7 separate regions of the Homo sapiens genome follow, and regions 2, 3, 4, 5, 6 and 7 are each linked to region 1. The links are contacts of gene promoters, found by promoter capture Hi-C in blood cells and fetal thymus (Javierre and others, 2016). All regions are on one chromosome and are shown on one strand. Each heading gives the region's core, a stretch centred on a gene start or on the middle of the fragment in contact. The rest is flanking DNA. Distances are from core to core; before and after follow the strand shown.

Region 1 (2,884 bases), core at 165-2,664:
GGTCTCAATATTTTGAGCAGGTTGGTCTGGAAGTCTTGGGCTCAAGAGATCCTCCCACTTCAGTCTCCACAGTAGCTGGGATTATAGGCGTGCCTCGCCATACCCGGCATTCAACCCTTAAATTTATTTCATGACATTTGATATACTTTATTTTATTGCAATTAATTAATTAATTCATTTATTTTAAGACAGAGTCTCACTCATTCTGTTGCCTAGGCTAGAGTGCAGTGGTGCCATCTTGGCTCCCGGCAGCCTCCACCTCCAGGGTTCAAGCCATTCTCCTGTCTCAGCCTCCCATAGCTGGGATTACAGGCTTGCACCACCAGGCCTGGCTCATTTTTGTATTTTTAGTAGAGATGGAGTTTAACCATGTTGGCCAGGCTGGTCTCGAACTCCTGACCTCAAGCAATCTGCCTTGCCTTAGCCTCCTAAAATGCTGGGATTACAGGCATGAGGCACCCACGCCGGGCCTGATACATTTTAAAAATATCTTGTTCATTTCTTTTTTGTATTTTCTCCTCCCAAATCCAGAACGTCTTGTTTACTGCTACCTCCTGAAGCAGATTAAGAACACTCACAATAATTTACAAGGTTTCAACTATAATAATTTTTAAACAGGCTGGAGTGTAGTGGTACGATCTCGGGTGATACATTCATATTAAAAAGTACACAAGGAGGTTGGGCGTGGTGGCTCACGTCTGTAATCCCAGCACTTTGGGAGGCCAAATGGGTGGCTCGCTTGAGCCTAGGAGTTCAAGATCAGCCTAAGCAACATGATGAACCCCGTCTCTACTAAATATACGAGAAAAAAAAAATTAGCCGGGTGTCGTGGCGCGTGCCTGTGGTCCCAGCAACTTGGGAGGCTGTGACGGGAGGATCGCCTGAGCCCGAGAGGTGGAGGCTGCAGTGAGCCAAGATCGCGCAACTGCACACTCCAGCCTAGGCGACAGAGCAAGACCCTGTCTCAAAGGACAAAAACAAAAAAGTACACAAAGGCGTACGGTAAATGGTCTTCCTACCACGACGTGTTTTCCAGAAACACATTCCTCTCCTGGGAGGTAACTATTATCAGTTTCTTCACACCAGCATTTTTAATCTATGTCTACTCAATTTAGAATTTCTAAACCCTTCAGGATCTTCAAAAGACAAAATCGGCCAGCGATTTTAATAGTTCCAGTAAAGGTTTGAGCAGAGAAGTGGACTTTCTTCTGTTCCTCTTTTCAACTACTCCTAAGGACTCCTGGAGAAGAAAGAGCAAATATCTCTGCATCTCAATTTCTGGTCCGCAGGTAACCCAGTCTCAGTAGCTTGGTAGTTACCATGGCTCCCAGTGCTGTGCGTCTGACGTCATTCTGCGGCGCTGGCTGATGGCGCAATCAGTTGCGGCGTCCTGTGAGCGCGGGGATGCTGGGAGGAGGGTGAAATTTAGCCATCGGTGTGTGGCAGGGTCATGAAAAAGCGGCGGCGGCGGGAGAGAGGAGGAGGCGGCGGCGGGGCAGTGAAACTACGGTAGCTGCCCCCTGAGCTGGTGGTGTGGCTTTGTGGGGAGGGCGTAGTTCCTAATCCCCTTTCCGGGCAGCCGCCGGGGCTCGGGGCTGTGAGCGGCCGTGAGGCTGCCTCCCCGGGCCCCCTGCCTCCGCCATGTTCCGCAGGGCACGCCTTAGCGTGAAGCCGAATGTCAGGCCTGGTGTAGGCGCCAGGGGCTCCACAGCTTCCAATCCCCAGCGTGGACGGGAGTCTCCCAGGCCGCCGGATCCTGCCACGGACTCTGCTTCCAAGCCCGCGGAGCCCACAGATGTGCCCACAGTCGATTTCGGTGGAGCGGAGCCCCAAGAAAAGGCTCCTAGGAGCAGGTAAGAGGTTGCAGAGGGAAGAATTTTCATTTGTCCCGCCTCTCCGGGCATGTCACCTGGAAGCTGAGCAAATGAATTTTATCACAGGAGTCCGCTCTCGTTTGCAGTAAGCCTTTCAGTTGAGGCTTGATGAAACCACTCCAAACTGCAGTTTAGTTGTCTGACCTGCAGGGTGTGGCTTGTGTGGATTTTGTCACGGTCTATAGATTCTCCGAGAGGAGACCATGTCTTCAAGTGGTGGTAGGGAGAATCGGGGTATGGCAGTCCTGAAGTGAAGAATATCCACACTATTCATTTGAGAATTTAGGTCACTATAGTTTTCATCCTTCTGGAGTGCTTTGCAGGGAAGTGTTTTTGTCTTTCAATTTATAAAATATTTATTTTTTAAAGGAGAAGATAAGTATTGCTTTGGCTTTACCGATTTATGTCAGTGAGTAAGAGTTCTGGTCACTTAATTGAAGTGTGCCTCTTTAACTATGGTGACCGTGTTTCCTGAATAGAGAAGCATGGCTTTAGCGTCATGTATCATATTTGGATTCAGGACTCTTTTAGTCTACAGGTAAACTTTTCTCAGGCAGAATTTGCTCATCTGCAAAATGGGAATAATATTGCCTACTTGGAGCGTTTTGGTGCAGATTGGAGATAATTCATATTAACTACCTTGCAGGGGATATAGCAGAATAGTTGCCCGCAAAAAGTTACTAGTTTTTTAGAAAGGTGATGGAGTAAATTTAAGACATGTTAGGCTAAGATGGTCTCTGTTTCTATATATATGAGGAAATCAGTAAACAGCCTTGTTAAGTGAAGTGAGATAGTACAAATTCTGTTTATGCTGTGATAGGAAGGTGAAACATTTATTTATTTTTGGAACATCTTCCTCTATTGGCCTGAACTGGTGCTGAGTGTATGGTGTTACGTTGATAGTTCAGTGATGGTTAGTAATTTCCAAGTTTATTACATGAATCTGTTTCAAAATTTCTACACAGAAAGGAGATACCGATACTAGTCGCTGTTACATTAATAAAGTTCTC
Region 2 (2,884 bases), core at 187-2,686, 2.4 Mb before region 1:
GAGGCATCAGTTGTTGTCCCCAAACCTGTTCTGGTTAAAAACCTCAAAGAATCTTGAATGTGAAACAACCTTCAAAATTTATTCTCATTATACAAATATTTTCTTCATTTAAAGGCATGTTTTAAAAGCTGAATTTAAGAAGAATTGTGCAGATTATAGTGGTCTATTTTGCAAGTATGTGCATATATGCTAAGAAATAACTATACACTTTAGTGAACATTTGATAAGGAGTCGGGGGAAAAATTAGTGAAAGATTATTATGCAGGATTCTATTCAAGTGTGCCAGAACAGCTTTAAAATCAAATGCAAGCATTAGAGATAGGAAGAGACTTTAGGAAGAGGAAGACAAGCAATTGCAGAAATTGTATAAAACAGAAAAGGCAACGTAGGAAGTAAGAGTGAAGAGAAAATCCAGGAAAAATAGGGTTGGGTACAGTGGCTCATAGTTGTAATCCCAACATTTTAGGAAACTGAGGCAAGACAATCGCTTAAGGCCAGGAGTTCAAGACCAGCCTGGACAACATAGTGAAACCCCATCTCTACAAAAAATTTAAAAATTAGCCAGATGTGGTGGCACACACCTGTGGTCCCAGCTACTCAGGAGGCTGAGGCAGGAGGATGGCTTGAGCCCAGGAGTTCAAGGCTGCAGTGAGCCACGATCACACCACTGCACTCCAGCCTGGGTGACAGAGCAAGATTCTGTCTCTTTAAAAAAAAAAATGTGGGGAGGTAGTTTTTAAAAATACATTTTCTTATGTTTTAATCTTTTTAGAATGTAATCCATGCACACAGCAAAAATCCCAATAGCACAAAAGGATATACAAAGAATAGGAATCTCTTTCCCACTCCTGACTCCAGACCCCTAGAATTCATCCCCCACCCAAGGCAAACACTGTTACCACTTTCTTGTTCTCTTCATTTTTGTGTGTGTACCACAGACCACTTCAGTATCTGATAAAGCTTATGGATCCCCCTCTCAGAACAATGTTTGAAAATATGTAAGCTAAAGTGCAGAGGATTACAAAAGAAACCAATTTGCCTGTAATACTGTTCTATCTGTGAATCCCTTAGGGATCCATGGACTCCAGGATAAGAGCATCTACTCTTAGATTCCCATGCATGTACAAGCATATATAGTACAGTATCCTTCCTGCAGTACGCCATCTGCAGGGGGTGCTGCTGTAGCTCGGCCTAGATCCCCTGAAGAAGCCAGTGCACCCATCTCTTGGCTGCTATGAGTGTTAGCAGCTAATGGTTCACAGTTGCCCCCTTCTATAGAGAATTCTCCATCCTGCGGCACATTGTAGCCAGCACAGGGGTATAAAAGGTTGGACAGCTTTATGGTGCAATTCATGCTCCAGAACTCCCTGTGGGATCAGGCTAACACTGATATCCACTGAGATCATCTCTTGCTTACCTTTTATCCACTACTCTATGCTGTTCCCACCCCATCTCCTGGGAGCAACCTCTCCTAAAAACACAAGAATCCCTGTCTCAGTCTTTGCTTCCAGAGATCTCAGCCTAAGACACTTACTCACTGTTTCTTACCTTGCTTTTTTTATTTATTAATTTCTTGGAAAGAATTCCATATCTGTACATTGGAATTGTTGTATTCTTTTAACTGTTGCATTCTTTTAACAGCCCCAATATTATTGTATTCTTTTAACTATTGCATTCTTTTAACAGCCACATACTATTCCATTAAATGGATTTACCATAATTAATTTAGCCCATCTCCAACAGAGCCATTTCCAATAGTTCCTCTCTGGAAACTTACAAATCTAATTTTTACACATCTAAATGCAATTACCTGTACCACCTTGCCACATTTTAAGTATCTAACTAGTTGCTAAGGACCCTTTCTCTAACCTCATGAGCTACAAAACTTTAGTGATTTGCTTTCTTTTTAGGATAAAGCTTTATTCTCAAAACAATTTATCTTTATATTTGACAAACTGTGAAGACTCAGCTGGCTTTTAGCCCCTGCATCTCTTAATCCCCACAGCCCCAGCCTCAGAGCATCAGATCAAGGATTGAGCAATGGACCAATCTCCATTCTAAACTGAAGAAAAACAAGGACCTGCAAATGCTTAACTTGGACCCTCAAATCTCTGGGCCTCATCACTTGCCTCCCTGCTAGTAAGAGGAGTAGATGGGCCTCTTCATTCTGCTAGGAAACTGCTAGATCTCTTGCTCCGTCACACACCCCTCCTAATGACAAACATTAATCCCCAGGGACAGCACAGTATAAACACCTAAAGGGAAGAGAAACAATGTCCTATCTGCCCACACACTGAAAAGCAGTTTTGGCTGGACGCGGTGGCTCACACCTGTAATCCCAGCACTTTGGAAGGCCCAGGCAGGCAGATTGGTTGAGGTCTGGAGTTCGAGACCAGCCTGGCCAACATGGTGAAACCATGCCTCTACTGAAAATACAAAACAAAACAAAACAAAACAAAATTAGCCAGATGTGGTGGCACATGCCTGTCATCCCAGCTACTCAGGAGGCTGAGGTGGGAAGATCACTTGAACACAGGAGGCAGAGGTTGCAGTGAGCCGAGATTGCCACTGCACTCCAGCCTGGGAGACAGAGCAAGACTCCATCTCAAAAAAAAAAAAAAAAAAAAATTAAAATTTTTTTTAAAAAAGCAGTTTCACCCCACAGTATAGTATTTGCCAAAGGTATTTGTTTCAGGCTGCCCCGCACCTTTTGAAAAGCTTTCCTATGTTTAAGAACTTCCCACAGTTTAAATTCCACTTCCCCAATACTGAAATCAGCACTTACCTCCCGTTTTGCAGGTGACTCACACTTTACACAACTATCAAAAAGAGAGGAACACAAATAGGCAGGTGTTGCTTGGAATTCATTTTCTGGCCAAGAAGG
Region 3 (2,884 bases), core at 221-2,720, 2.4 Mb before region 1:
GATCCAGGTGGAGCTATGGTCCATCTGGACCCATCAGTCTTCAGATATGCCACACAAAAAAAAAAAAAAAAAAAAAAAAACAGAAAAAAAACTGAAAAGATGTCTCAAAAGGCCAATCTTAGGTTCTACAAGAGTGATGTTATCTGCAGGAGTAATTAGGTAAGTTGTGACCTCTGGAATACTGTCTAGCGCTCCTTGATGTCTACGCCTTAGCAGAATTCAGGCTCCTCTCATTCTCCTAGCCTGATGGTCTCTCAATAGCTTTACAAAGGTAATTGAGTTTGGGGGAAGGGCCATTATCATTTAAACTATAAATGTCTCCCAAAGTTAGCTTGGCCCAAGCCCAAGAATGATTAAGGGCAGTTTGAAAGCTAAAGGCAAGACAGGGTTTGATTAGATCAGATCTCTTTTGCCATAATTTTCTCACTGTTATAATTTTGCAAAGGTGGTTTCAACAATAAAGTTCCAGTAGACAGACTGTGATACCTCGTTTTTTTTTATGCTACTAAAGGTCTTTGTGTGTATTCAAATTAGAGTATTGTAAATTAATTATAATTTATACTGCTCAAAACCCGATTTTCATCTCCAAATCATCCCCAAATTTCCCAGAGTAATAATAATATTTAACATCTATTGAGTGACATTTTATACTATTCATAGTGCTACAGGAAAGGGGTCCAGATCCAGACCTCAAGACAGGGTTCTTGGAGCTCATGAAAGAAAGAATTCAGGGCCAGGCTTGGTGGCTCACGCCTGTAATCCCAGCACTTTGGGAGGCCGAGGCAGGTGGATCACCCAAGATCAGGAGTTCGAGACCAGCCTGACCAACATGGAGAAACCCTGTCTCTACTAAAAATACAAAATTAGCTGGGTGTGGTGGCGCATGCCTGTAGTCCCAGCTACTGGGGAGGCTGAGGTAGGAGAATCGCTTGAACCTGGGAGGTGGAGGTTGCAGTGAGCCGAGATCATGCCATTGCACTCCAGCCTGGGCAACAAGAGCAAAACTCCGTGTCCAAATAAAAAAAAAATTCAGGGCAAGTCCATAAAGTGAAAGCAAGTTTATTAGGAAAGTAAAGGAATAAAGAATAAAGAATGGCTACCCCCATAGACATCTCTTAGAATGTCTTAACTGTCTGGGAATACAGCCCAGTAGGTCTCAGCCTTATTTTACCCAGCTCCTATTCAAGATGGAGTTGCCCCGGTTCAAACGCCTCTGACAACAGTTCTGTTAGTCCAAACTGCACCATTTTGTAAGCTCCCCACTAATTTTGCAGACCTTGGTCAAAGTGAAACATTTCACAGGGGTTCGGGGCTGTAAGAAACATCCTGTCTAACCACTTGACCACAAGGCAGACAAAGGCCCAAATAAAGAAACATCCCTATCATATCTTGCTGGGCAAAGTTCCAAGGAATACCATGATGACATCTGCCAGAACAAGGGCCAGAACTGCCTCATCACAGGAACATCTTATCAATATCCTGCCAGGCAGCAAGCCATACTGCCCAGACCCTTACCGCCCATACCTATAAATACCCCCAGCCTATAAGCAGTGGTGGGCTCTGGCATTAAGCTGGTCCCCCACATCTGTAGGTTTTATGCTGGACATAAAGCCTGCATTTACTGTCGAGCCGCCCTCTTTCTGTGTGTGTGTGTGTGTGTGTGTGTGTGTGTGTGTGTGTGTGTGTGTGTCTTTCTTTAACCCTCCTGTTCCCTTCAAAACCTAGCAAGTTCTAGAGACTTTTCACTTATTAACACATGTATAATCCTCCCAACAACCCTACAATATAAATATTACTATTCCTACTTTGCATATAAAAAAAAAACTGTGGCGCAGAAAGGCCAACTAACTGACCCAAGATCCCACAATTACTAAGTGGCAGAGTTGGGATTCAAACCAAGACTGACACAGGAACCCACATTCCTAAATTTTTAGCAACAGAAAAATAACCTTTATAATACCCAGTCCTACTTGTCAGAGGCGTTTGACCCAGAGTGCCTCCATCTTGAATAGGGGCTGGGTAAAACAAGGGGGAGACTTACTCGGCTGCATTCCCAGGAGGTTGGGCATTCTTATTACTATTATTATTTTTTTTTTTTTGAGACGGAGTTTCACTCTTGTTGCCCAGGCTGGAGTGCAATGGCGCGATCTTGGCTCACTGCAACCTCCATCTCCGGGTTCAAGCCATTCTCCTCCTCAGCCTCCCGAGTAGCTGGGAGTACAGGCATGCACCACCCCACCCGACTAATTTTGTATTTTTAGTAGAGACAGGGTTTCGCCATGTTGGTCAGGCTGGTCTCAAACTCCTGACCTCAGGTGATCCACCCGCCTCAGCCTCCCAACTGCTGGGATTACAGGCATGAGCCACTGTGCCCTCTGCCTATGGAGTAGCCATTCTTTTATTCCTTTACTTTTTTAATAAACTTGCTTTCACTTTACTGTATGGACTTGCCTCGAATTCTTTCTTGCGTGAGATCCAAGCTCTCCTGGGGTCTGGATGGGGACCCCCTTTTCAGGTAACACTACCTGACCTGTTTTTACAGATGTGCCTGGATTACACAGTTTCACAGGCAGAATTTAAAGAAAATCAACGCTTTCCTTTTCAAAAAGGAGACAAAACAGTTTGCAGCAACACTTAACAAAATCCTCTTCCTTCTCCTATGTTCTGTCCTCACACAGTTGGATTCCAGGGCCTCTAGCAACAACGGTTACCAGTACTCCAGGCCCCACACAAAAAGCCACAAAAGCAGTCACCTTCCTCCGTTACTTTATTTGATAGATGACCCCAGGCTCCCTGTGGCAAAGAAGAATCCTTTCTTTTTCTTTCTTTTTTTTTTTTTTTCCAGAGACGGTCTTGCTCTGTTGCCCAGGCTGGAGCACAGTAG
Region 4 (2,884 bases), core at 245-2,744, 2.3 Mb before region 1:
GGACTACAGGTGCCTACCACCACACCTGGCTAACTTTTGTATCTTTTTTGATAGCAGGTTTTGCCATGTGGCCCAGGCTGGTCTCAAACTCCTGGGCTCAAGGATCCACCCTTCTCACCCTCCCAAAGTGCTGGGATTACAGGCATGAGCCACTGCTCCTGGCACTTTTTTGTTAAAAACTAAGACATGCACACATTAGCCTATACCTACACAGGGTCAGGATTATCAATATTACTGTCTTCTACCTCCACATCTTGTCCCACTAGAAAGTTTTCAGGGGCAGTAACATGCAAGGAATTGTCATCTCCTATAACAATGCCTTCTTCTGGGGTACCTCCTGAAGGACCTGTCTGAAGCTATTTTACAGTTAACTTTTTTTTTGTTTTTGACACCACTATTTGAAGTCAAAGGATATAGTTACTTTTATTTTTAACAAGCAAAAGTACATTCTAAAATAATTTATAGTATAGTAAATACATAAACCAGTAGCATAGTCATTTATTATCATTATCAAGTCTTATGTTCTGTATATAATTGTATGTACTGTATTATATGACTGGCAGTGCAGTAGGCTTGTTTACACCAGCATCACCAGAAACACATGAGTAATGCATTAACACTAGGTGACTGGAATTTCTCAGCTCCATTATAATCTTATGGCACCACCATCGTATATATGTGGTCTACCATTGACCAAAATAATGTTATGCAGCACATGGGTATATGTTGCCTGTACTTTTTTTTTTTTTTTTTGAGATGGAGTCTCACTGTGTCACCAGGCTGGCATGCAGTGGCCCGATCTTGGCTTACTGCAACCTCCACCTCCCGAGTTCAAGTGATTCTCCTGCCTCAGCCTCCCGAGTAGCTGGGATTACAGGCATGTGCCACCACGCCCAGCCAATTTTTGTATTTTTAGTAGAGATGGGGTTTCACCATGTTGGCCAGAGTGGTCTCGATCTTTTGACCTCGTGATCCCCCTGCCTTGGGCTCCCAAAGTGCTGGATTATAGGTGTGAGCCACCATACCCAGCCACATTGCCTGTATTTTTTTGGATTACTGCAAACAGTGCTGGTATGAGCAACCTGGTAAGTGTTACCTGATACATACCTATACAAGAATAAGAAATCTGTATGACATAATTCTATGAGTGGTATGATTAGGTATTTGTAGCTTCAATCTTTCTAAGGTAGATAATGCCAAACCATTTTCTAAAGCAGTTGTACCTATTTATTTTTCTTATGTTTTGTGAAATCAAGGGGAAATGTTTTTCTTTCTCTAACTCTAGTTGAATTCATGCGTCTTGATAAAGATAAATTACATTTCATAAATGATAATGTTTTATTTTTGTAGGACTTTGCTGCTATTTGAGCACAGTGATATTGTTGTCATTTCACTACTCAGTGTTTTGTTCACCAGTTCTGGAGGAGGACCAGCAAAGGTAGAATTTTCCATTATCAGTTACTTGGAAATGGAAAGTATGTATGTCACATATTATCCAAAGGAATAAAATCTTATCTTTCACCATTTAAAAGAATGCAGGAGGCTGAGCGCGATGGCTCACGCCTGTAATCCCAACACTGTGGGAGGCTGAGGTGGGCGGATTACATGAGGTCAGGAGCTTGAGACCAGCCTAGCCAACGTGGTGAAATTCCATCTCCACTAAAAATACAAAAATTAGCTGGGCATGGTGGTGGGCACCTGTAATCCCGGCTACTCTGGAGGCTGAGGCATGAGAATTGCTTGAACCTGGGAGGCGGAGGTTACAGTGAGCTGAGATCATGCCACTGCACTCCAACCTGGGCAATAGAGTGAGACTCAGCCTCAAAAAAAAAAAAAAAAAAAAATTCCAGGGGCTTTTTCCGCTAGTTTTACATTTTTCTTACAATTTTTTTGTTTTTGAAGAATTCTATAAGTTTACAAAAATAGATATTTGTGAAAATATAATCCGTAGTTGGAGAAATTTCTTAACATGGAAACAGTGGAAAATGATTTTGAAATGATTATAGATTCCTAGGAAGTTGCTAAAATAGTACATAGAGGACCCTCACCCTTCATTTAGTTTCCCCCAAAGGTAACTTCTTAACCAACTCAAGTACACTATCAAAACCAGTCAATTAGACCTAGTATTTCATATCACAATAGGGTGACTATAATCAACAATAATTTAATCATACATTTAAAATAACTAAAAGAGTATAATTGAATTATTTGTAACACAAAGGCTAAATGCTCGAGGGGATGGATACCCCAATTTACCTGATGTGATTATATACATTGCATGCCTATATCAAAACATCTCGTATACCCCATAAATACATATACCTACTATGTACCCACAAAAATTAAAATCAAAAATTAAAAAAAAAAACAGGAAATTGACATTGGTGCAATCCATAGACCTTACTCAGATTTTACCAATTTTACATACGATCGTGTGTGTGTGTATGTATGTATGTATGCATGTAGGTCTATGAAATTTTGTCATGTGTAGATTTGTGTAACCATCATTACAAGCAAGATATAGAACTGATGCATCACCACAATGATCTCTTTCATGTTGTACTCATGCACCTTTCCCCCAAACCCCCTACTCATTCTTAACCCTGTAAATCATTTTTGAAAAATAACTAAAAACTTGTTAAATTTAAATTATGATGAACATTTATCCAACATTTTGCCACCTAAGCACTCCTATTCATCCTAAGTGATTCAAGTATTATCCTTTTGTTAAATGAGTTACCAATCTACAATTCCAAACTGTTAGAACTATATAGTGTTTCTGTTTTACCAAATTAAACACTTCCTTGCTGGGTCCTACTTGCAGACCCTGGCTGAACAACAAATGCACTCAGACACAGGTATTTAGTGAAGGAGTGGGCTAGGG
Region 5 (2,884 bases), core at 254-2,753, 2.3 Mb before region 1:
AATCCCAGCACTTTGGGAGGCTGAAGCGGGTGGATCACGAGGTCAGGAGTTCGAGACCAGCCTGGCCAACATGGTGAAAACCCATCTCTACGAAAATACAAAAATCAGCCAGGCGTGGTGGCAGGCTCCTGTAGTCCCAGCTACTCAAGAGGCTGAGGCAGGAGGATTGCTTGAACCCAGGAGGCAGAGGTTGCAGTGAGCCCAAAGATCACACTATTGCCTGGTCAACAGAGTGAGACTCGGTCTCAAAAAATAATAATATATTGATTAAGGCTGGGTATGGTGGTTCACACCTGTAACCCCAGCACATCGGGAAGCTGAGGCAGGATTGCTTGAACCTAAGAGTTCCAAAGCAGCCTGGGAAACATATTGAGAACTCATCTCTACAAAAAATTAAAAAGTTAGATGTGGTGACTCACGCCTATAGTCCCACCTACTTGGGAGGCTGAGATGGGAGGACTGCTTGAGCCCAGGAGGTCAAGGCTGCAGTGAGCCATGACTGTACCACTGCACTCCAGCCTGTGTGATAGAGTAAGACCCTGTCTAAAAAAAAAAAAAAAAAAAACAGGCCAGGCTCACACCTGTAATCCCAGCACTTTGGGAGGCTGAGGTGGGCAGATCATGGGATCATGAGGTCAGGAGATGGAGACTATCCTGGCTAACACAGTGAAACCCCATCTCCACTAAAAATACAAAAAAATTAGCTGGGCGTGGTGGCGGGAGCCTGTAGTCCCAGCTACTTGGGAGGCTGAGGCAGGAGAATGGCATGAACCCGGAAGGCAGAGCTTGCAGTGAGCTGAGATTGTGCCCACTGCACTCCAGCCTAGGCAACAGAGCAAGACTCCATCTCAAAAAAAAAAAAAACACACATATTGGCCAGGCATAGTGGCTCACACCTGTAATCTCAGCACTTTGGGAGGCCAAGGCAGGTAGATCACTTGAGCTCAGGAATTTGAGACCAGCCTGGGCAACATGGTGAAACACCATCTCTACAAAAAATACAAAAATGAGTGGGGTGTGGTAGTGCTTGCCTGTAGTCCAAGCTACTTGGGGGGCTGAGGTGAGAGGATGGCTTGAGACCGGCAGGTCGAGGCTGCAAAGAAGCCATGTTCGCACCTCTGCACTCTAGCTTGGGCCAGAGAGTGAGACTCTGTCTGCCTCTCTCTCTTTATCTCTCCAGGGGACACCCCAAGCCCAGTAATGCTGTAGATCTATATATATCTGTATATATAGATTAGGCCAGGTATACTGACTTGTGCCTGTAATCCCAGCTATTTGAGAGGCTAAGATATACATACATATAGATTAGGCCAAGCATAGTAACTCATGCCTGTAATCCCAGCTATTCAGGAGGCTAAGACAGGAGCATCACTTAAACCCAGGAGTTTAAGACTAACCTGGGCAGTATAGCAAGATCCTCTCTCTCTCTCTCTCTCTCTCTCTCCATATATATGTATTAGAAGCTCTGTGTCAGTGTGCAAGCATGTCAAGTGGTGAGCTTCAGTATAAGGGTAACCAAGCGGTGGCCCAGTCATTTCATGGGGACCTTTCCTAACCATCAATATTTTTAGAACTTTTTCTGTTGGGCTGATCCATTCCCCAGAAACCATTCTCTTACTTCACTTAGAAGGGTATAAGTCCAGCTGCCAGCCTTTTGGGGACTGGGTAGGAGAAGGCGACTGGAGGTCTTACCATTTGGTATGCACAATTTTACTTAAAGCCCCTCTCAGCTTGCCTGGTCTCCTGAAATCCAGAACCCCTTTAGTTCAGCCACTCCAGAACATAAACCTCTAGTCGTCTGCCAGGACCAAGGAGAGGTTGTGCTCTTACTGCACTCAGCTGAGCAGGATGGAATCAACCAATTCTTTTCTTTTTTAAATTCTTTTTTATATTTTAAAAATATTTTCATCCAGCTAAAAATATCAACAACCAATTCTTTTTTGTTGTTTTTGTTTTTTCGGTTTTTTTTTTTTGAGACAGGGTCTCACTCTGTCACCCAGGCTGGGGTACAGTGGCATGATCATAGCTCACTGCAGCCTCAACCTCCCAGGCTCAAGTAATCCTCCCGCATCAGCCTCCTGAATAGCTGGGACTACAGGCGCCCACCACCATGCTCGGCTAATTTTTTTTTTGAAACAGGGTCTCACTATGTTGCCTAGGTCTCAAACCTTTGGGCTCAAGTGATCCTCCACAGCCTCCCAAAGTTCTGGGATTACAGGTGTGAGCCACCGTGCCTGGCCATCATGCATCTTTTAAAAACCATTGTTTTGGCAGAGCTTGAGGAAGTAACCAAGATACGTGTGTATTAGTCTGTCATGTTAGATCACTACTCCCTCTGTGAAACACTGACTTCTCTTTTCTGAGATACCACAATCAGTTCTCCTGCCTCTCTGGTGTTCTTGCCCAATATTCTTAGATGGCTTTTCTTCCTCCGCTCCATCTTTAAATATGGAAGGCCCAGACCTTGCTTCTGGGCATCTACTCTTCTGTATGTTCCTTCCCTAGATGATCTCATCTGTGTCAGGCATAAAAGGCCCTCTACAGCAAAAAGGGATTATATCTCCCATCCTGACCTCTGTCTAGTAGACTAGTAGACCTCGCCTCTTGTATATCTTTTTTTTGAGACAGGGTCTCACTCTGTCGCTCAGGCTGGAGTACAGTGGTGTGATCATGGCTCACTGCAGCCCCAACCACCTTAGCTCAAATGATCCTCCTGCCTCAGCTTCCCAAGTAGCTAGCATCACAGGTGCATGCCTCCACACCAGGCTAATTTTTTAAAGAGTTTTTTGTAGAGATGAGGTCTCACTATGTTGCCCTGGCTGGGTCCTGTATATCTCTAAGCGTTCCAAATACAGCAGAATTCTTTCTTTCTTTTTTTTTTTTT
Region 6 (2,884 bases), core at 139-2,638, 2.3 Mb before region 1:
TAACCTGAACTTCATGCCCAAACTATAGTGCTTACTTCTATTTGCTATTTCAAGATATCTCTTTGTTTCAAGGTTGATACTGCCTCTCCAAGCCCAATGGAAACATCTGGATGTGCCCCTGCAGAAGAAGACCTGTGTCAGGCTTTCTCTGATGTAATTCTTGCAGTAAATGATGTGGATGCAGAAGATGGAGCTGATCCAAACCTTTGTAGTGAATATGTGAAAGATATTTATGCTTATCTGAGACAACTTGAGGTAAGTATTATCATTCGTTTTTTTTCTAAACTGCATCTAACTTTATGAAAGTATTTTCCATCAATAGTTTATAATAATACAAGCAGGACGTGGGCAGCATTTCTTAAGAGATCGCACTTTCAAATTCTCCTTCATGGAATACCTATAATAAAAAGTCACTAAATAAACCAATGGAGTCTATTTGTCACTTTGTGCAGGAAAGTTCGAAGTTAGGGTGGATACTACTATCGCTTTCTAAAGGAAAATCCACAGATTGAATTTGATATGTATATATGCGATCTCCACCACGTTTGGAATGGTTAAGTCCCAAACTCTGCATTTTAGGTGATAACGGGTCAGGAAGTGGATGAGGATGTAGAATATACTCAAAGACTACAGCCACCCCTAACACAAGGCATTTTGTGTTAGTGTGGCTGATGTGCATCCAGTTGTTGGTGAAATTATTTGTGCCCAAAAGGAGTACACTCAAAAGCTACTTTTTTGGTTCACTTCAATTTGATCCCACTTTTGAAACTTTCTATTAATGGCATTTGCCCTTTCCCTACAAATACAAGCACTCTTTATGGCAGCATAAACATAGTAACATAAATTATACTGTTACCACATTTACGTAGTTTTTTTGTTGTTGTTGTTTTGTTTTTTTGAGATGGAGTCTCACACTGTCGCCCAGGCTAGAGGGCAGTGGTGCGGTCTCAGCTCACTGCAGTCTCTGTCTCCTGGGTTCAAGCAATTCTCCTGCCTCGGCCTCCCAAGTAGTTGGGGTTGCAGGCACACACCACCATGCCTGGCTAATTTTTTGTATTTTTATTTGGTTTTGGTTTTTTTGAGACAGGGTCTTGCTCTGTTGCCCAGGCTGGAGTGCAGTGGTGCAATCTCGGCTCAGTCCAGCCTCCGCCTCGGGTCAAGTGATTCTCATGCCTCAGCATCCCGAGCAGCTGGGATTACAGGTGCCCACCACAACACCCAGCTAATTTTTGTACTTTTAGTAGAGATGAGGTATCACCATATTGGCCAGGCTGGTCTCGAACTCCTGACCTTAGATGATCTACCCATCCCGGCCTCCCAAAGTGCTGGGATTACAGGCCTGAGCAACCGCACCCAGCCCCCAGTTGTTTCTAATGTGTTGTCTTATGTCATCACTGACATGTTCATCTCTTGCCTGCTCCTTTTTGGCCTCTCCTTTTTCTATAGGATTCTTCTGCAAGACTTCTTTGCCAGGAGCAGCCTTCTGCTTTTAGTTTCTTCTTCCATCTTTCTAGTGCTTTTTAAAGTTGTGTTCTAACTTTGGAGGATTCAATTTAGTAAATGTGCTGTTTCTTTTTTTTTTTTTTTTTTTTTTGGGACAGAGTCTCGCTGTGTCACCTAGGCTGGTGTGCAGTGGCACAATCTCGGCTCACTGCAAGCTCTGTCTCCCGGGTTCACGCCATTCTCCTGCCTCAGCCTCCTGAGTAGCTGGGACTACAGGCATCCGCCACCACGCCTGGCTAATTTTTTATATTTTTAGTAGAGACGGGGTTTCACCGTGTTAGCCAGGATGGTCTCAATCTCCTGACCTCATGATCCACCCGCCTTGGCCTCCCAAAGTGCTGGGATTATAGGTGTGAGCCACCGCGCCCAGCCTGTAAATGTGCTGTTTCTTGATGCTTCGTTCTTGTTCTGTGCAAGGCCATTTATGCAAAGCAACCCCTCAAGTGGCAGAGGAGCTGAGAAACCAAGGAATTAGGCAGATAAATGGAGTTTGCTGGTATTGGGTGACTGATGAGGGGGAATTTACAGACATAAGTATGGTCTTTGATGGCTGTAAGATGTAGATCTCTGCACTGTAACCCCTCGTACCCACGGCTTGGGTATGTATACATTTTCTTGGGCAAAGTATACATGCTCTAGAATCAATGTGTGGGTGGCTGACAGAATGCTGCAGACATCACAGCCTATAATGTATACAATAATATCAAGGGCTGTTTTGGAGGAAAGGCCAAACTTAAAGTGAATAGGCAGAAGTCACATTGAATTAGTATTTAAAATAAAGTCACTGTTGTCCCCACAGTTCTTAGCTATGTTGCTGTTGGGATTTAACCCAGGAGCAGGCAGGAGTGTTGTAGTACATGGGTTCCAGCTGCCCTGGGAGTTACTGATATTTTCTCTACATAAAGCTCAGGTTCTAAGTTTAGAGGCTTAAGTGAAAAGATCTGAGATGATAATGTAGTATCTTTATTTGGAAGGGAGTGGACCAGCAGCAGTTGTGGTGAAGAATATCGTAAGACCTGACAATATAAAAAAGCTGTCATACTGTCCTATCTAATGTTTGCCTTTTTTTTCTTTTTTTTTTGGGGTGGGGAGACAGTCTCACTCTGTCACCCAGGCTGGAGTGCAGTGGTGCAATCTCGGCTCCCTGCAACCTCCACCTGCCAGGTTCAAGCAATTCTCCTGCCTCAGCCTCCCAAGTAGCTGGAACTACAGGTGTGCGCAACCATGCCCAGCTAATTTTTGTATTTTTAGTAAAGACAGGTTTTGCCATGTTGGCCAGGCTGGTCTCGAACTCCTGGCTGCAAGCAATCTGCCAACTTCAGCCTCCCAAAGTGCTGGGATTACAGGCGTGAGCCACCACGCCAGCCTTCATGTTTGCTTT
Region 7 (2,884 bases), core at 137-2,636, 2.3 Mb before region 1:
TCCATTTTGTGTCTTCCTCTGAGGCCTTAAAGTTCTTTATACCCATTTTAAATAAAATGAGGCCAAATTAGAAGTTTGTAATTAGGAGTTTAATTATTTATATTTATTTTGTTGTATCAGCTTCCGAAAAAGAATGAGTTGGTTCGTCATGTGGTAATGAGTAAAACCTTAATCAATAAATATGTGACTTTATATTCTCTTTATCTGTTTTCAGGCTGAGAGCACAGACAAAACAACAACTCTTAGAATATAAATCAATGGTTGATGCAAGTAAGTATTTTCATTTTCAAATTAGGGTTTTGTTGTTTGTTTGTTTGTTTTTTTGAGACAGGGTCTTGCTATCACCCAGGCTGTAATGTAGTGGCGCAGTCTCTGGTTTACTGCAGCCTCAGCCTCCTGGGCTCCAGCAATCCTCCCACCTCAGCCTCCCAAGTAACTGGGACCACAGGCACATGCTACTGCGCCCGTCTAATTTTCTGTATTTTTTTTGTAGACACAGGGTTTTGCCACCACACCTGGCCTCAAATAAGATTTTGTGAGTTTGATGATTAACAGTACTCGAGTGAAAATAAAATTAACTTTACCAAAAATTGTTTATATATGTTATAGTGTGGCAAAACTGGTAAACATGCAAGATATTTATGAAGTATGCTAAGTGTGCTGAAGGAAACAAAGGCATGATAAGAGGGAGGGGCTTCTTTTCATAGGGATGGCTTCTCTAAGAAGATGATTTTAGAGCTCAGATCCAAATGAGAAGAAAGTTTACGTTCCAATAGTCTTTTTGTTCTCTATATAGCTAGTACCATTTTTAAGGGATTGTGACATCCAAAAACTAGATTTAGTTAACACTGTAGAATTTCTATACCTAGGAGACGACAGATGTAAGGCAGGCCACAGGAAGTTTAGTTGTAGCCTTTGAAAGAAGATGTTTATCTAAAATTGACTATCTGCTCTTTTAGAGGCCAAGACAAGAAGATCACTTGAAGCTAAGAGTTTGAGATTAGCCTGGGAAACAAAGTGAGACCTCGTCCCTACAAAAATAAAAAAAACGTAGCCAGATATGGTGATACATACCTATAGTCCCAGCTGGGACTCACTACAACATCCAACTCCTGGGCTCAAGTGATTGAGTGATTGTACTGTACTCCACTCCACTGGGCAACAGAGTGAGACTGTCAGGCAATCAACAGAGAAATAAGTATTGATTCTTTTACCATTTAAAAAATATATATATGGCTGGGCTTGGTAGCTCACACCTGTAATCCCGGCACTTTGGGAGGCCGAGGTGGGCGGATCACCTGAGGTCAGGAGTTCGAGACCAGCCTGACCAACGTAGAGAAACCCCGTCTCTACTAAAAATACAAAATTAGCTGGGCGTGGTGGTGCATGCCTATAAGCTCAGCTACTCGGGGAGGCTGAGGCAGGAGAATCGCTTGAACCTGGGAGGTGGAGGTTGCAGTGACGCGAGATCACGCCATTGCACTCTGGCCTGGGCAACAAGAGCAAAACTCCGTCTCAAAAACAAAAACAAACAAAATATATATATATATACACACACACATATACGTATATGTATATATATGTATATATATGTGTGTGTATGTGTATATATGTATATATATGTATATGTATATATATGTGACTGAGACTTTATTGGTTAAAGGATTGTTTTTTACAATAAAGGCATCTATTTTAAGGGTACAATTTGATGAGTTTTGACAAATTTCTAAATCTGTATAATCACTACCACAATCAAGATACAGAACATTTTCGGCTGAGCATGGTGGATCAATCTGTAATCCCAGCACTTTGAGGGGCCAAGGCGAGAGGATTGCTTGAGCCCAGGGCAACCAGCCTGGGAAACATAGCGAGACCCCCACCTCTAAAAAAAACAATTGGCCAGATGTGGTACCATGTGCCTGTAGTCCCACCCAGCTGAGGTGGGAGGATTACTTAAGCCTGGGATATCAAGGCTGCAGTGAGCCGAGATCACACCACTACACTACAGCCTGGGTGACAGTGACAGGAGACCCTGTCTCCCCCAAAAAAAGATACAGAACATTTTCTTTTTTTGTTTTTTCTGTTTTTTTTTTTTTTTTGAGACGGGGTCTTGTTCTGTCGCCCAGGCTAGAGTGCAGCGGCGCAATCTTAGCTCACTGCAACCTCCGCCTCCCGGATTCACTGCCTCAGCCTCTCAAGTAGCCAGGATTACAGGCACCTGCCACCATGGCCGGCTAATTTTTGTATTTTTAGTAGAGACGGGTTTCACCATGTTGGCCAGGCTGGTCTCTTAACTCCTGACCTCAGGTGATCCACCTGCCTCGGCCTCCCAAAGTACTGGGATTACAGGCATGAGCCATCACACCCCTGGCCACACGTGGCTTTTTAAAGCTAATTAAAATGAAATAAAATTTAAAATCAAGTACATATCAAATGCTCAGTTGCCACATGTGGCCAGTGGCTATCCTATGGGATAGCATAGATAGGAAACATTTCCATCATCACAGGAAGTTCTAGGCTTTTTTCTGTACCATTGAGGTATTTGTTGATCCCTACACAAGTGCCACATTGTCTTTGTTGGTTGATGTTTTTTTTTTTGAGATGATCTCACTCAGCCACCCAGGCTGGAGTGCAGTAGCAAGATTTTGGCTCACTGCAACCCCAACCTCGTGGGCTCAAGCGATCCTCCCACCTCAGCCTCCCGAGTAGCTGGGACTACAGGCATGCACTATTGTGCCTGGCTAATTTTCAGTAGAGACAGTTTCACTATGTTGCCCAGGCTGGTCTCAAAAGGTTAATCATCATTGAGATGGGCTGTAAATGTAAAATACAGACAGAATAATGTGAAATATGTCATTAGTAATGTTAAACTGACTGCACATTG

What was found. The method cuts DNA at HindIII sites, captures the fragments that hold promoters and counts their contacts. A CHiCAGO score of 5 or more calls a contact.
Region 2: a contact is called between a fragment that was not itself captured here and the fragment with the promoter of BDP1 in region 1, in 7 of 17 cell types (fetal thymus, naive CD4 T cells, total CD8 T cells and 4 more). The highest score is 10.8, in fetal thymus.
Region 3: a fragment that was not itself captured here is called in contact with the fragment with the promoter of BDP1 in region 1 in 1 of 17 cell types (total B cells); the score reaches 6.1 in total B cells.
Region 4: a fragment that was not itself captured here is called in contact with the fragment with the promoter of BDP1 in region 1 in 2 of 17 cell types (naive CD4 T cells and total B cells); the score reaches 6.2 in naive CD4 T cells.
Region 5: a fragment that was not itself captured here is called in contact with the fragment with the promoter of BDP1 in region 1 in 1 of 17 cell types (activated CD4 T cells); the score reaches 5.2 in activated CD4 T cells.
Region 6: a contact is called between a fragment that was not itself captured here and the fragment with the promoter of BDP1 in region 1, in 2 of 17 cell types (fetal thymus and total CD4 T cells). The highest score is 7.9, in fetal thymus.
Region 7: a fragment that was not itself captured here is called in contact with the fragment with the promoter of BDP1 in region 1 in 4 of 17 cell types (non-activated CD4 T cells, total B cells, total CD8 T cells and 1 more); the score reaches 10.7 in non-activated CD4 T cells.

The regions. Positions count from the first base shown.
Region 1 is chr5:71,454,237-71,457,120 of GRCh38, forward strand. BDP1 (BDP1 general transcription factor IIIB subunit) reads left to right here and starts at 1,415. Exons shown (of 39, transcript NM_018429.3): 1 at 1,415-1,853. The coding sequence starts at 1,642. RefSeq lists enhancers at 350-1,276, 1,277-2,202. The HindIII fragment of the contact is 8,261 bases long and covers 1-2,884 here.
Region 2 is chr5:69,031,038-69,033,921 of GRCh38, forward strand. No RefSeq gene overlaps it. Among named protein-coding and RNA genes, the nearest start is that of LINC02198, 2.6 kb to the left of the region's middle. The HindIII fragment of the contact is 957 bases long and covers 959-1,915 here.
Region 3 is chr5:69,090,007-69,092,890 of GRCh38, forward strand. No RefSeq gene overlaps it. Among named protein-coding and RNA genes, the nearest start is that of SLC30A5, 2.6 kb to the right of the region's middle. The HindIII fragment of the contact is 6,134 bases long and covers 1-2,884 here.
Region 4 is chr5:69,106,999-69,109,882 of GRCh38, forward strand. It overlaps SLC30A5 (solute carrier family 30 member 5), which reads left to right. Exons shown (of 16, transcript NM_022902.5): 5 at 1,351-1,438. Among named protein-coding and RNA genes, the nearest start is that of SLC30A5, 14 kb to the left of the region's middle. The HindIII fragment of the contact is 3,307 bases long and covers 1-2,884 here.
Region 5 is chr5:69,150,570-69,153,453 of GRCh38, forward strand. No RefSeq gene overlaps it. Among named protein-coding and RNA genes, the nearest start is that of SNORA50D, 8.8 kb to the right of the region's middle. The HindIII fragment of the contact is 5,938 bases long and covers 1-2,884 here.
Region 6 is chr5:69,171,198-69,174,081 of GRCh38, forward strand. CCNB1 (cyclin B1) reads left to right here. Exons shown (of 9, transcript NM_031966.4): 4 at 73-255. Among named protein-coding and RNA genes, the nearest start is that of CCNB1, 5.5 kb to the left of the region's middle. The HindIII fragment of the contact is 5,956 bases long and covers 1-2,884 here.
Region 7 is chr5:69,191,581-69,194,464 of GRCh38, forward strand. CENPH (centromere protein H) reads left to right here. Exons shown (of 9, transcript NM_022909.4): 2 at 215-270. Among named protein-coding and RNA genes, the nearest start is that of CENPH, 3.4 kb to the left of the region's middle. The HindIII fragment of the contact is 5,618 bases long and covers 1-2,884 here.